Linked DNA regions of Homo sapiens: region 2 is linked to region 1. The links are contacts of gene promoters, found by promoter capture Hi-C in human tissues and cell types (Jung and others, 2019). All regions are on one chromosome and are shown on one strand. The core of a region is centred on a gene start or on the middle of the fragment in contact, and the rest is flanking DNA. Distances in the headings are between cores, read along the strand shown. Region 1 holds the start of SIK1 (salt inducible kinase 1). Region 2 overlaps LINC01679 (long intergenic non-protein coding RNA 1679).

What was found. The method cuts DNA at HindIII sites, captures the fragments that hold promoters and counts their contacts. A contact is called where the count stands out against the background at its distance.
Region 2: a contact is called between a fragment that was not itself captured here and the fragment with the promoter of SIK1 in region 1, in 4 of the 25 tissues and cell types used here (H1 embryonic stem cells, IMR-90 fibroblasts, hippocampus and 1 more).

The regions. Positions count from the first base shown.
Region 1 is chr21:43,425,881-43,432,334 of GRCh38, forward strand. SIK1 (salt inducible kinase 1) reads right to left here and starts at 1,251. Exons shown (of 14, transcript NM_173354.5): 1 at 1,130-1,251; 2 at 143-312. The coding sequence starts at 298. LOC124905029 (a long non-coding RNA gene) reads left to right here and starts at 3,704. Exons shown (of 3, transcript XR_007067891.1): 1 at 3,704-6,454. RefSeq lists a silencer at 4,849-5,143. The HindIII fragment of the contact is 13,239 bases long and covers 1-6,454 here.
Region 2 is chr21:43,355,968-43,361,952 of GRCh38, forward strand. It overlaps LINC01679 (long intergenic non-protein coding RNA 1679), which reads right to left. Exons shown (of 2, transcript NR_131902.1): 1 at 4,925-5,985; 2 at 2,088-3,519. Among named protein-coding and RNA genes, the nearest start is that of LINC01679, 3.4 kb to the right of the region's middle. RefSeq lists enhancers at 195-364, 3,744-4,301, 4,302-4,858, 5,642-5,791. The HindIII fragment of the contact is 6,310 bases long and covers 1,335-5,985 here.

The sequences.
Region 1 (6,454 bases), core at 1-2,500:
GAACTAAAAACGGTTACTATTTACCCACCACGACAATCAAGCCTGGAGCAGTGAATCTGCATGGGGTCCACCCGCCAAAGGTCGGGTCGCCCCGGGTCCAGTGGGGAGGCCCCGCCGGCTGGGTCCCACCGCCCCCACGCACCTGCGTTTTGGTGACTCGATGCCGCGCCAGCTTCACCACCGCGAAGTTGCCTTTGCCCAGGGTCCGCTCGATGTCGTAAAAACCCACCCGGAGGGGCTTCTGCTGGCCCTGACCCTGGCCCGCGGGGTCCGCGCTGAACTCCGACATGATAACCATGGCTCCGCGCGCACCTGCGGGGCCGCACAGAGCTCAGAGCCCACCAGCGCCCCCGCCGCCCGCGGTCGGCTCCATCCGTGCCCGCGGAGCCCCCAGTCCCCACGGGACGCAGGGACCTGCTCCCACGCCTGTCGCCCCCACTCTATCCACGGGCCCCTCCAGCCCCGTGGGAGGTGTGGACCCGCCCCCGCCGCCCGCTCCACCCGGACCCCCGACCCTCTTGAGCCCCGCGGGGCGCACGGACCCGCTCTCATAGAGGCCCCTGCCGCCCGAGTCCGGTTCCGTCCCGATCCCGGGACCCCCTGAGCCGGGATTCCACACTCGCCTCCCGCCGCCCGCTGTCGGTTCCGTCCCCACCCTCGACCCCTTTAGCACCTCTGGGCGCGGACCCGCTCCCACACCTGGCCCTGCCACCCGAGGTCGGCTCGATCCGGATCCCAGGACCGTCCCCTGCCCCGCTCCCACACCCTGCCCCCGCCGCCCGCGATCCGTCCGGTCCCCACCCCCGACATCCCAGGCACCTCGGGGATCGCGGACCCGCCCCCCACACCCGGTATCTCCGCCCGCGGTCGGCTCCAACCTGACCCCCGGCTCCCCAGCCCCTGAGCCCCGCGGACTCACTCCTACCCCGGCCCCCCAACAAAGGGGAGCCCGAGGGCGGCCAGGCCGCCAACCCCGCCCGCGAACCCCGCGCGCGCAAGGCCAGGGACCCTGCGCGGTGGCTGCAACCCCGAGCCCCGGCCCGGCGCCCGCGCGGAGCCCCCACGGCGGCCACCTCCGCCCGCCCGGAGCCCGCCGCTGCCGCCGCTGCCGCCGCTGCCGCCGCCTCACCTCCGCCGCCACCGGAGCGCCCAGGCCAGGAAGCCGCCCGCTCGGCCGCTGGCGCTGCTCGGGTGCCTACTGCTCCGGCTGCCGCCGCCGCTGCTGCTGCCTCCGGGGCCGCGCCGCATGTCAGCCCGGAGCCGCCGCGCTCCGCCGCACGCGGCGCCCGGCCCCGCCCCGGCCCGCCCCGGCCCGCCCCCCGTAGTCCCCGCCCCCTGCCCCGCCCCCGCCGCCCGGGCGGGGGCCGCCCATTGACGTCGCTTTGACGCCAGAGCGACGCGCGGCCGAGCGCCGGGCGGAGGGAGAGCGGGAGATCGGGCGGTTGCCAAGAGACTGGCGGCTCTGACGCGCGCGGGATGAGGCCGTTGCCCTGGCGACCGCGGGCCGGTGACGTCAGGGGCGCCCGCCGCCCGAGGCCCGCCCGCCTGCGCTCCGCCGGGCGCCCCCTCCCGGGCGCTGGGGGCACTGCGGGCGGCCCCACCGCCGAGGGCGCGCCCGCCCCTCCACGCTCGGGCACTCGGGCCGGGTCCCGCGGGCGCCTTGTGCTCGCTCCCTCCAGGAGGGGACGGCTCTCGGGCAGGGGTCGCCGGCCCCTCCACGCGGCCTGCGTTCGTCCAGACTCAGAGCCTCGGGACGTGCGGGGGCCCGGGGGCCTCGCGGGCTCGCGCGTGGGGCTGGCGGCGCGGATGCCCTGGGGCGCTGCAGACCCCGAGAGGCCGCTTGCCCGCGGGGACGTCAGCCGCTTTTGCTGTTAAAATCTGAAATGTTCAGCAAGTTAGAAACTTGAAACCTAAGGAAGCGTGACCGGCCGCTCTGGAAGCCCCCGCCGCGCGGCCGGTCCCGGCCCCGGCCCTCAGCGGCGCTGGCGTCTGCGCGTCCCGGGGCTGCCCCCGCAGCATGTGGGGCTGGGACCCTCTTCCCGCGCGGGCCCCGGGCGGACGCTGCGGGCGGTGACGGAGCCAGGCCGGCCGCCTGGGTAGGGGACGGGGGCGCGGGACCACTTGCTTGCCCGTGGCCGATGCCTCATCCGAACGGAAAACGTTTTCTTCAGGGGAGACAGAGGCTGTGGGCGAAGGTATTTTTTAAGCCTGAGGACCCATTTGGGAGTTAGATTCTGGATCGAGCCTAGGGTCAGTTTTCCTTGTGTTAAATAACACTACTTCACAGAAGGGGGAACGAGAATTCAGGGGAGTTGGCACAAAACTTGGAACCCTTCTCGGGAGGCTTTCCTGCCTGGACGGACGCCTGGGAGGAGGGCCCGGAGAAACGAGGATGAGCTTCTCCTCATTCGCCCGAGGGTCTGACCACAGATTTCCCAATCGCCACACACACACACACACACACACACACACACACACACACACGGGTTGTTTGGGAGTCAGTTGGTTTTCAAAGGCTTTCAAGGAAATGAAGAGTCCCAAAGTTTTCCTTAATCGTTCAGAGTGTTTTTCTTTGTCCCAGGTTTATATACCAAGAATACGGGGGAATATTTTTAGTTCCTTTCAGCTGAACAGTGTACAACTGCCTTTTTTCCTTTTGGAGGTCCCAACACCCTGTTAATCCGCTCCTAGGAGAACTAAACAAAAACAAGGCTGGACGTCGTGTCTCCCGCCTGTAATCCCAGTGCTTTGGGAGGCTGAGGCAGGAGGATCAGTTGAGCTCAGGAGTTTGAGACCGGCTTGGTTAACATAGCAAGACCTCACCTCTATAAAATACTTTTAAAATAGCCAGGTGTGGTGGCACACGCCTGTGGGGCCGGCTACTTGGGAGCCTGAGGTGGGAGGATGGCGTGAGCCTGGGAGGTTGAGGCTGCAGTGAGCTGTCATTGCACCACTGCACTCCAGCCTGAGCAAGAGAACAAGGCCCTGTCTCAAAAAAGAACAAAGATAAAAGGCGGGGTGGGGGAGAAACCAGGCCCCTGATCACACTCACCATTCAGTCCCTCAGCCTGTGACTTGAAATACTGCCCCCCGCATCCAGGAAGCAGGCTTCCCCACCCCTCCCACCCTAGCCAGAGTCTTCCAAAAGGTCTTAGGTATTTGCAAACACCTGGCTGGCTGTTTGGAAACATTGCATCAGCACCAAATAAAAACTGCAGCCAAAACTGCCTCCGCAGAACAGGTCCCCAAACTCAGGTGCACTTGACCTTTCACCCTGACCCAGCCCTGAGCTTCCAAAACCCAGAACAGCCCTGTGCCAACCATGGCCATCCTGTTTTCCCTTCCCTGGGCCCGTGGGCAAGGAGCTCGCTCTGCAGAGAAAGGCAGGAAGCACAGAGGAAAAGGCCAAGCTTGGAACGGCTGTCCCGTCTCCCCACTGGGGGAACCCCTGGCACCCTCATAACTAAGTCTGTGCTTCAACCTGGTCTCTGTTACCCAATGTCTTTTGTTGTTGTTTGTGTCCTTGACCCCCCGAGGCTGTATTTCCTCTCAGAAGCTTTGATTTCTTTTCTGTTTTCTGGTCTTCCGTGCCTTTAACACGAGGAAAAATAAAACACATGGTGTGAGTGTAAGGATGGTACAAGCAAATGATTGGAGAAGCTCCTCACTGAACATAATGGAAGGAATGCTCCCAAAGTCTGCAGGAACGGTACTTTATTATTATGGTTTGCATATTATTACAGATTTGTGGAAAACGGCAAGTCAGTTTTCCTTTCCACATGGACTTTCTTCAGCTTGTCTTATGATTGCCGTGTTTCTGGAGTTCATCTTGTTTTTTAGGCCTTAAGACTGGAAACCCCAACAGGAAATGGGTCCATTTATTATTCATAGTTGTAACGCTGGCCACTGGCATGTCACAAAACTCTCAAAATCAATTGATAAACACAGAGAATGGAGCGTGGGGCAGCATTTTTGCAAAGGGATGGGTGCCCAGCTGGCCCCAGTGCCGCCCTCTGTGAGGAAGGAATCTCCCAGTGCAGCCAGGAGTCAGACGAGTTCCTCTTCCCGACCCTACCCTCCCATCTTCGACGCCTAAGGCCCTTCCCTGTCTTCCTGGCTTTGCTTCAGGTGGTTTTGTACTTTTTAAATTTTGTTTTGGTTTGTTTAGGCTTCAGCCTAGCGGCTTTAGGTGCCAGAAAATCAGATTAACCACTGCAGCGGCATCCTTCTCAGGGACCCGGGGGCCACGTTGGTCATTTTGCCCCATTGTATCTGGAGAGCTTGACAGACAGACATGTGTGCACTAGGTCAGGAAGCCACGGCCCTGGCCTGGGAAGAGGGCAGGTAGGAGAAAAGCCCCCAGCCCCCTCCACCCTCAGGGAATGGCCCAGTTGTCCACAGGTTAAGTCAAGAATCCCCCGCGAACAGGTCAAACCAGAGACTGCCCAGTCCCAGCGTCCGCCCCCAGGGCATTGCTTCCTTCACCTCCTACACTTGGCTCCCTGTGGTTCCGTGGCTGCCACAGTTGTGTGGATCCTACCGGGCCCAGGGCCCCTCCCCATCTCAGACAGCACCCACTTTCAGGCTAGGCCTTCCACGGGCTGCTTAAATGGACCACGAAGGCCGGCAAAGCAGCAGAAACGTGCCTGTTCACGGGCCAGTCGGCCCTCCCCGCTCCAGCCCTCTAGGGTTTCTGGTTCCGGTTTCTGTCGCTGCCGTTAGTGAGGAATTATTCATGTGGCCAATGCGTTTTCTTGACATTTAAGCAGGGCTGTGGCCGATATCAAGGCTGAGGACCCAAGAGGCCTTTGGGTGTCTGTGTCCCTGAGCCATATGCTGAGGTCGGACGGCGGGGGAGGGGGGTGCAGGAAGGGGCCAGCCCCAGCGAGAGTCAGCCAGGCCCCAAACAGAGCCAGGGGTTCCCCCGGGGGGGAGTGCTCACTTAGGAAGAGCACCATGGACAGCCTGGCAGGAGGTCACCCTGTGCTGAGCAGGCAGCGCTGGAGTAAACCACCTGCCTCTCTGTAGGAAGAAGGAAACCGCATCCGCAAACGGAGCAAAGGTCCCCAGAGGCAGAGCAGAAGCCTCTGGGATGCTGCAGCTTTGTGCAGACACTGGGGACCAGGACTGGAGCAGGTGCTGGCCGTGCTCTTTATCCTGGGCACTCTGCCAGGGCCACACGGAGCGTGGCTCCCGGGAGATGGAGACGTCTGAGTGTCAGCTCAGGTCTCGGTGTTTCCAGGTGACATGCTGGCTGCTAGTGTAGAGCATGGTAAACCATCTTTTTTTTTTTTGGTTACTATTTACTTATGCAAAATAATGTGAGTTTCTGCCATTTGCAACAAGTGTGCCAGCTGCAATGAGTCAGCGGGTGGACACAGGTGAGCATGGCCAGACTGTGCCAGAACATGGTGACAGACAGACATGCTTCGAAGTTCACTGTGGGAAGGGACAGGTCCCCAGAGAGAGGTGAGACGGTGCAACGCGAGGGTGAGTTCGGAGTCATCCTCCAGATGTCCACAAAGGCTCGAGAGGCCCTGCTGTGTGTCAGGCACTGCGTGAAGGTTGTGGGCACAGTAGGAGGGACACAAGACACCTTCTCTCGAGGACCGTTGGTTCCAGTTGCGGAGACAGTAACAGCATAAGATGATGAGTAAGAAAAGAATGCTGGCAGGAAAGTGGCCATGGAGGGAACTGCTTCCGGGCCTCTCCGTGGGATTTGCCAGGCGTGGACTGAGCGAGGACCTTCCCTGAGAACACCAACTGCTCCAGGAGAGAGAAGAGGTGGAGCCCCGGCGGGGGGCATGGGGCAGGAGGCAGCCACCCACACCTTCCCTCTCTGAATGCTGAGCAGAGGCTCTCAGCAGAGGGGAAGAAGAGCAGAGGCCACGATTGGGAAGACAGACCCAGTGGGGGTCCTTGGCGCCGTCCACATCCATCTGCAACCTGCTGCCCAGCGCCTGCCTGCCCGGGGTGTGCACAGAGCAGTGTGGTCTGTCCCGGCTTCACGGCCTGACACGGCCAGGCGAGGATGACAGGGAAAGGGAGGCAGGGACTTGGGGCTGTTGGAGCCAAGCTGAGGAGCAAGGAGCTGCGATGGGAAGCGGGTGGCAGGAAGGAGCGTGAGGCCTGTGGGTGGAAGGTCTCTGGCCTTGGAGATTGAAGCGTTTCACTTGTGCATCTCACAGCCCAGAGAAGCCAAGCCCGGACCATGGGGGAGAGAGGAGGACCCCCGTCTCAGGGCGGGCTGAGGAGACGCTCTCTCCACGGCTTCCGGATGGGTCTCCCTCCATCTCAGCTGCATCTATGGGAAAACGATGAAATGCTCCCTCCACTGCCGGGCCTTCTCTTATAAAGCAGGTTTCTTCGAAGTATAAAAATTAATAGAAAAGGTTCCATAGAAAATCAAGAAAGTAAGTATGTAAAGATGAAAACAAAAAGCACCGGAAATGCT
Region 2 (5,985 bases), core at 3,240-5,739, 67 kb before region 1:
ACACTTTAAAGCCACACTGGCCACAAGGGACGCTGGTGATCCCGTGGTCTGCAGAGCTACCTGCTCAGTCTATTTATGTCACCTCACTCCCAGCCAGCCAGGGGAGGCCAGGGGAGCCCCTCGATGACTAATGTCACAGCTGCCACCAGGGACAGGCCCTGCAGCAGCCTGGAGGCCTGATGTGTCCATACCAACGATGGCCGTCAGCAGGGGCTGTGTGGAAGGACAGAGCTGCTGGGGCCTTGGGAAGACAAGAGACCGGCTGCCGCCTGTAACTGCTGGCCTGGCTGTGGGCTTTTGGCTGAGGTCTGCAGCCATGCACTGGCCACCGTGTTGTACAGGAAGAGGACTTCTCACTGGTTTCCACAGTCTGTGCACCCTGACAGCGGGTTGTCTACTGGAACCTGGTTCAACGTCTCTTGGTTGAAACCTTGGTGGTGCCAGGGCTTGAAAGCCCTTTCCCCGGAGGGCTCCCCTGTTGGCTCTGACTTGCTGTCCTCGGTAGGTGAGCCTTCCTGCCCGTCCCGTCAGCTCGAGGCCCACAGCCCCTCACCCCTCTTCCCAAGAGCACCCTGACACAGTCACACAGAGACCCGCACCGCTGACTTACGGACAGAGAAACGCGCATTGCTGACTCTGAGCACAGGTGGCCTGGCTCCTGCACAGACCCCCCACCAACCCAGTCTCTGGGCACACACTTCAAAGAGCCTGCCAGGGTTAATGCCACTTCAAGAAACCGGTGGCCTGGGAGTCTAGAATCTTCTGGCTATCAGTCAGCGGTGCCTGCCTGTAGGAGCCCAGGCCCTTAGCAAACTCCTAGGCTCTGTGCTTTCCCACAGCGAATCTTTAGCACTAAGATTCAGCTCCCAGCCTTTCATCGGTTGTGTATGTCTTTCCTGGCCCAAATAATATCGTGGTGGGACACTAGATAGGAGCCTGTCCCCAAATAAATGAGTTGCAACAGTAACTAGTTAGTTACTTGTAATTAAACACACAGAGACAGACTATTATTATTATTATTTTGAGACGGAATCTCGCTCTGTCACCGAGGCTGGAGAGCAGTGGCGCGATCTCAGCTCACTGCAACCTCCGCCTCCCAGGTTCAAGCGATTCTCCTGCCTCAGACTCTGGAGTCGCTGGGACTACAGGTGTGCACCACCAGGCCTGGCTAATTTTTGTATTTTAATAGAGATGGGGTTTCACTAGATGATTTACCCCTTTTAAAAACAATGCACTTGGCTGGGCGCAGTGGCTCATGCCTGTAATCCCAGCACTTTGGGAGGCCGAGGTGGGTGGATCCCTGAGGTCAGGAGTTCGAGACCAGCCTGGCCAACATAGTGAAACCCCGTCTCAAAATAATAATTTTGAATCTCGCTCATCAGAGCGAGCTTCTGTCTCAAAATAATAATAATAATAATAATAATAATAATAATAATAATAAAATGCACTTACAAGGAAATCAGCAAAGCTAGACCCCCACCTACTCCCGCCCCAACACCTTTAAGAAGAAAGATGCCCTCAAAGAAGGGGGGTGTCCAAAAAGGGCAGGACAAGAGCTCCCCAGGCCACATCGCTTTGGGACGTGGGGCGGGGGCTGCAGGCTCTACACAGCTTCAGGTTTCTCAGGGCTCCACCATACATCGGTTCCAAAGGCCCCTCTGCACAAGGAGACTGTCTCCTGCATGTATGAGTTATCTTCTTGCTTTGCCTAACAGGGTATTATAGCTTCGATGTCTTTCGTCACTGGCACAGAGGTTTTCTAACATCCGTCTTCGTGGCCTCCTGGTCCGGTGGCAAGCATCCCAAGCTCCGCTTCACAGATGAAAAAGCTGAGAGGTTAATTAAACCGTTTGTTGTCCCACGCAGAGTCAGCTTTGGGGCTGGGAGCCACCACAGGACCTGGCTCCCCACGACACCGGCTGAGCCCGGAAGCAGCTGAAGGTTCCAGGACCCTCGGGGCAGCTCCCAGGCCGGCGAGGAAGAAGCCAGGGTGAAATTTGCGGAATGGATTTGTTTCCACTCTTGGAATTCGTGATCACTTTGCTCCTCTGAGTCTCTAGGAATTAGCAATTGTGCCATCGACCAAATTAAGGTGCAAATTATTTGTATTGTTAAACGACTCCAGTTATTACTTGGAGAAAATTTTGCACTTCAATTAACAAAAGCACACATGGGGCAGTTTCTGAGCAAAGCCAGATTTTATAACACTCAGAAGAATGAGGTCCGGCCCCGGGCCTCGCCGCCCTCCTCCTGGCTTTCAGCTCAGCCTGTCCCCTGGCAGTGCCAGCAGCTTATCCGCAGGTCCCCGAGGCCACCCGTTCCCTTCGCACCAGAGCTCTCCCCTCTGTTCTTTGAGAAGCAGGAAGCTAGATGGATCCATCTCAAGGGGGATCCCCCAGAAGCAAAGCCTGAGAGAAGAGCTCTTGTGAAAGTGATTTACTGGGGGAATGGTCTGGGTTTTATGGGGTGAATTGCATCCCTCAAATTCCCATGTTAAAGCCCTAACCCTCAGTGCCCCAGAATGTGGCTGTTTTTGAGACAAGGTCTTTCAGAGGTGATTAAGGTAAATGAGGTCACTAGGGTGGGCCCAGATCCAGTATGACTGGTGTCCTTATAAGAACAGGAGGAGAAGACACACGGGGATGCCAGGGGCCTGCTTGCCCAGAGGGACAGCCCTGAGACAGGGCAGCAAGAGGGTGGAGTCTGCGTGTCCTGGAAGGTGGGTGGGGGAGTGGGGGAGAAAGCAGCCTTGGGGGCCTGGATCCTGGACCTCCAGCCTCCAGATGGTGAGAAATCAGGTCTGCTGTTGAAGGCCTCAGGGTGTGCTATTTCAGTTTAGTGGCTCAAGCCAACTAAGACCAGGGGAAGGGGCTGGCAGCCAGGGAAGACGGCTAAGCCAAGATGTGGGCGGGAGGGGAGCAGCGGCAGGGTCCTGGGGCTAGGAGCCTGAGCTACATGCCAGGTGGGACCACCCGTCCCAAAGACTCACGGCTGTGAGCCCCTAGCAGCTTACGGTTGCAGTGGGTGATGAGTCCTGGGGAGAGGGATGGGAGTGGAGACCCTAACAGCACCTGCCCCTCCGCATTGGACGCTCAGCCAGCAAGATCAATGCAGAACTCACGGAACAGCCAACCACCAATCACCGATCAGCCAACACCCTGGCAGAATTATCTCAGCATCTGGATGTTGGCACCACAGGGACCTCAGGCTGCAGAGAACAGGCTGGCCTATGAACGGAGACGGTGCCTGAGCTCGTGGCTGCAGAGGACAGGCCAGCCTGCGAGTGGAGACGGCACCCGAGCTCGCGGCAATGTTGCGGGGAAGCCAAGACCAACCCCTGCCCGTGCCCGGTTTCCCCGAGGCCCCGTGTCCTCAGAGCGCGTCTCGTGGTTCCGGGCTCACTGGCTTCTAAGTCTTCTCCTTCTGTCCTTCTGTCTCAGTCTCAGCCTTCACTCTTCCTTCTCTCAGGGAGAAAAATAAACCTCTGTGGCTGGCGTTTGCAAAAGGGAGAGACTCTTCCTGAGGAAATAAAATAGATTTCAGTCAATGAATATGCAAACTTGAGGCAGGCCAACACCCAGGAGTCAGGGCTGGGAGACATTGGAGCCCAGCAGCCCCCTGGCCCGACGCCCACACAAAGCCCATTTCAGCCAAAGGTATCAGGTTGTTCACTGTGTAAACACACACCACACACACACACACACACACGATAAGCAACCATTTTGGGGGGCAAGTACTGAAACTCAAAACTTGTTAGCTTTCAAGACCTGAATTCAGCTGCAAGAGGCTTATCCTGGCTTTTACATTGCAGCATGGTTTTTAATTTTATTTTCTACATTTTTTTAAAATCAGGCAGCCTCCAGAATCACAGAAGATTCAGAGAAACTCCCAACAGCATGGTATTTTAAAGCAGGAAACAGGTCTTGGCACTTTTTTGACACCATGGAGTCCTGAGTGGGTGGTGGCCATCACGCTGGGTGCAGACCCGAGAGCAGAACCTGGGGTCTGCAGAGAACCTGAGCCGGCACCCAGAGTGGCGGGGGAGGCCGTGCCAGGAGAGCCAGCCTTCCATAGAGCTTGGAGAGGCTGGTGTCACAGGGGAAATGAAAACAGGACTTCAAAGAGGGAGCGGGCAGAAGCCCCTGCAGGGGATTTTCTGGTTCCTAACCTGGAACAGGCACCGGTTCTGAGGCACACAGCACGCAGCCTCTGCCTTCACCATGTGCTGTCCACACGTCCCGAGCCCCTGGCTGCCCAAAAGAGAGTCACCTGCCCGGCTAAACCCACACCCCAACCCTCCCTGTCACTGGCTGCTGCTGGGGGTCCATTCACCTCAACCCCATGCTTAGCAGTGACCACCCTGGGCTCTTGTAATGGATCCTCATGTCAGCCACTGTGTGAGAACCTTTCCCCGCAGTGTTATCCCAGTCACATGAATCAGGCTCTGAGTGAACGCGTGTATTCCTTGGGTGCCTACTTAGAGCAGAAGGAAAGCAAAGATGCTCACCGGGTAGCCAGGAGCGCCGCTTCCCTGCCCATGCGCCATGGTGTGTGTGTGTGAGCTCAGGGCACGCGGGCACACACGTGTCCGTGGTTCCCACAGGAGGAGCAGGGCCCTCCTGAAACCCAAGAGCCACATCCCCAGGAGCCTCGGGCAGATGAGCGGGAGGTACCTGGGAGCTGGAGACAGGGCCGCCCCTCGCGAGGACGGGCTTTTCCGCCTCACTTCTGCCTTAGCGGCATTGATACCACGCGCATTCACCTCTCCGTGCCTCGGTTTTCTCACCCATAAAGTGGGGGCTCGCTCTGCCTGCCCAGTTGCTGTCAGATTGGGCCAGGCCTGTACAAGCCCACATGGGGACCCCTGGGTGACTGCGCTCTCCCACCTCCCCTCCCACCCTTCCCGCTGCGGGACTCCACACACCAGGCCCACCGTCACCCCCTGCTCTCAGTCTCCAGGCACAGCCAGGTGTGGGCGGTGCATGGCGGGCCCAGCGGTCAACCGCGGCAAAGGTGGTTCCCAGGTCCCTGTGTAGCGGGGGTCCCGTAGCCCCATTGACTGCAGGTCTTGGCTGGGCCAAGGCCATAGAGCAGCATGGCCAGCACTCCTGTTCCATCCTCTGCATCTCTGCTTCAATTGCAAACAACAGCCACAGTTCACATCTGGATCTGTGTGGTGCCCTTCAGTTTAAAACCCCTGCCCAGAGGCCATCTCCTTTGAAACTTCCCAGGCAGGTGTCAAAACGATCCTCCCTCCACATGTCACAGAAATGCAGCAGCAAGAAGCCCGAGGCCTCCAGGAGGAGCTGCGGGCTGGCCCCACCCACAAGCAGCTGCGGGCTCACAGTCACGGTCCTCTGAGGACAGGCTTGTGCTTCCCACTCCCCGGTGAGCGGGCACCACGGATGTCAGTGCCGTGACTGGCCTTTGTGCTTTGGATAAACTCCATGTGGAATGGAAGGAAAGATGGGAGCATTCTAGAACCTGAGCATTTTGTAGCAAGAGCACTGTTCTCACCGCTGATTTCCAATGTCCAGGGCAGAAAGATGAAGAGATATCGTTTTCCCTTAAATGGGAGTGAAGGACAGAGGCAGCGTGGTGGCCGGTGATGGACAGACCCGTGTCTGCTGGCAGGACACCCCGGCCGCCTCCGTCTCATGGATAGAGCAAGCAGTTTTCTCTATGACGTGGCTTCTTTAGGAGGCAGCTCGGCTGCCCAGATCCCTCCTTATTTTTTAGTTCTCAAGCCCTGTAGGGTGTTTTCGGTCGCAGTTGTTTGGGCTGTGGTCCTGACCCTCCTGAGTTCCAGTGGCTCTGTTCAGGAGAGCTGCCTGGGGCCGGGACTTCTGAAACACACACTGAGCCACAGGCCGGCCCGGCGGCTTGGGTTCACCGCCGCCTCTTTGTGTGTGATGTCCTGGGATAGGCCCGTGCACGTTCAGATGACACTGTACATATAAATAACTTGTAGCCGAGAACAGGATG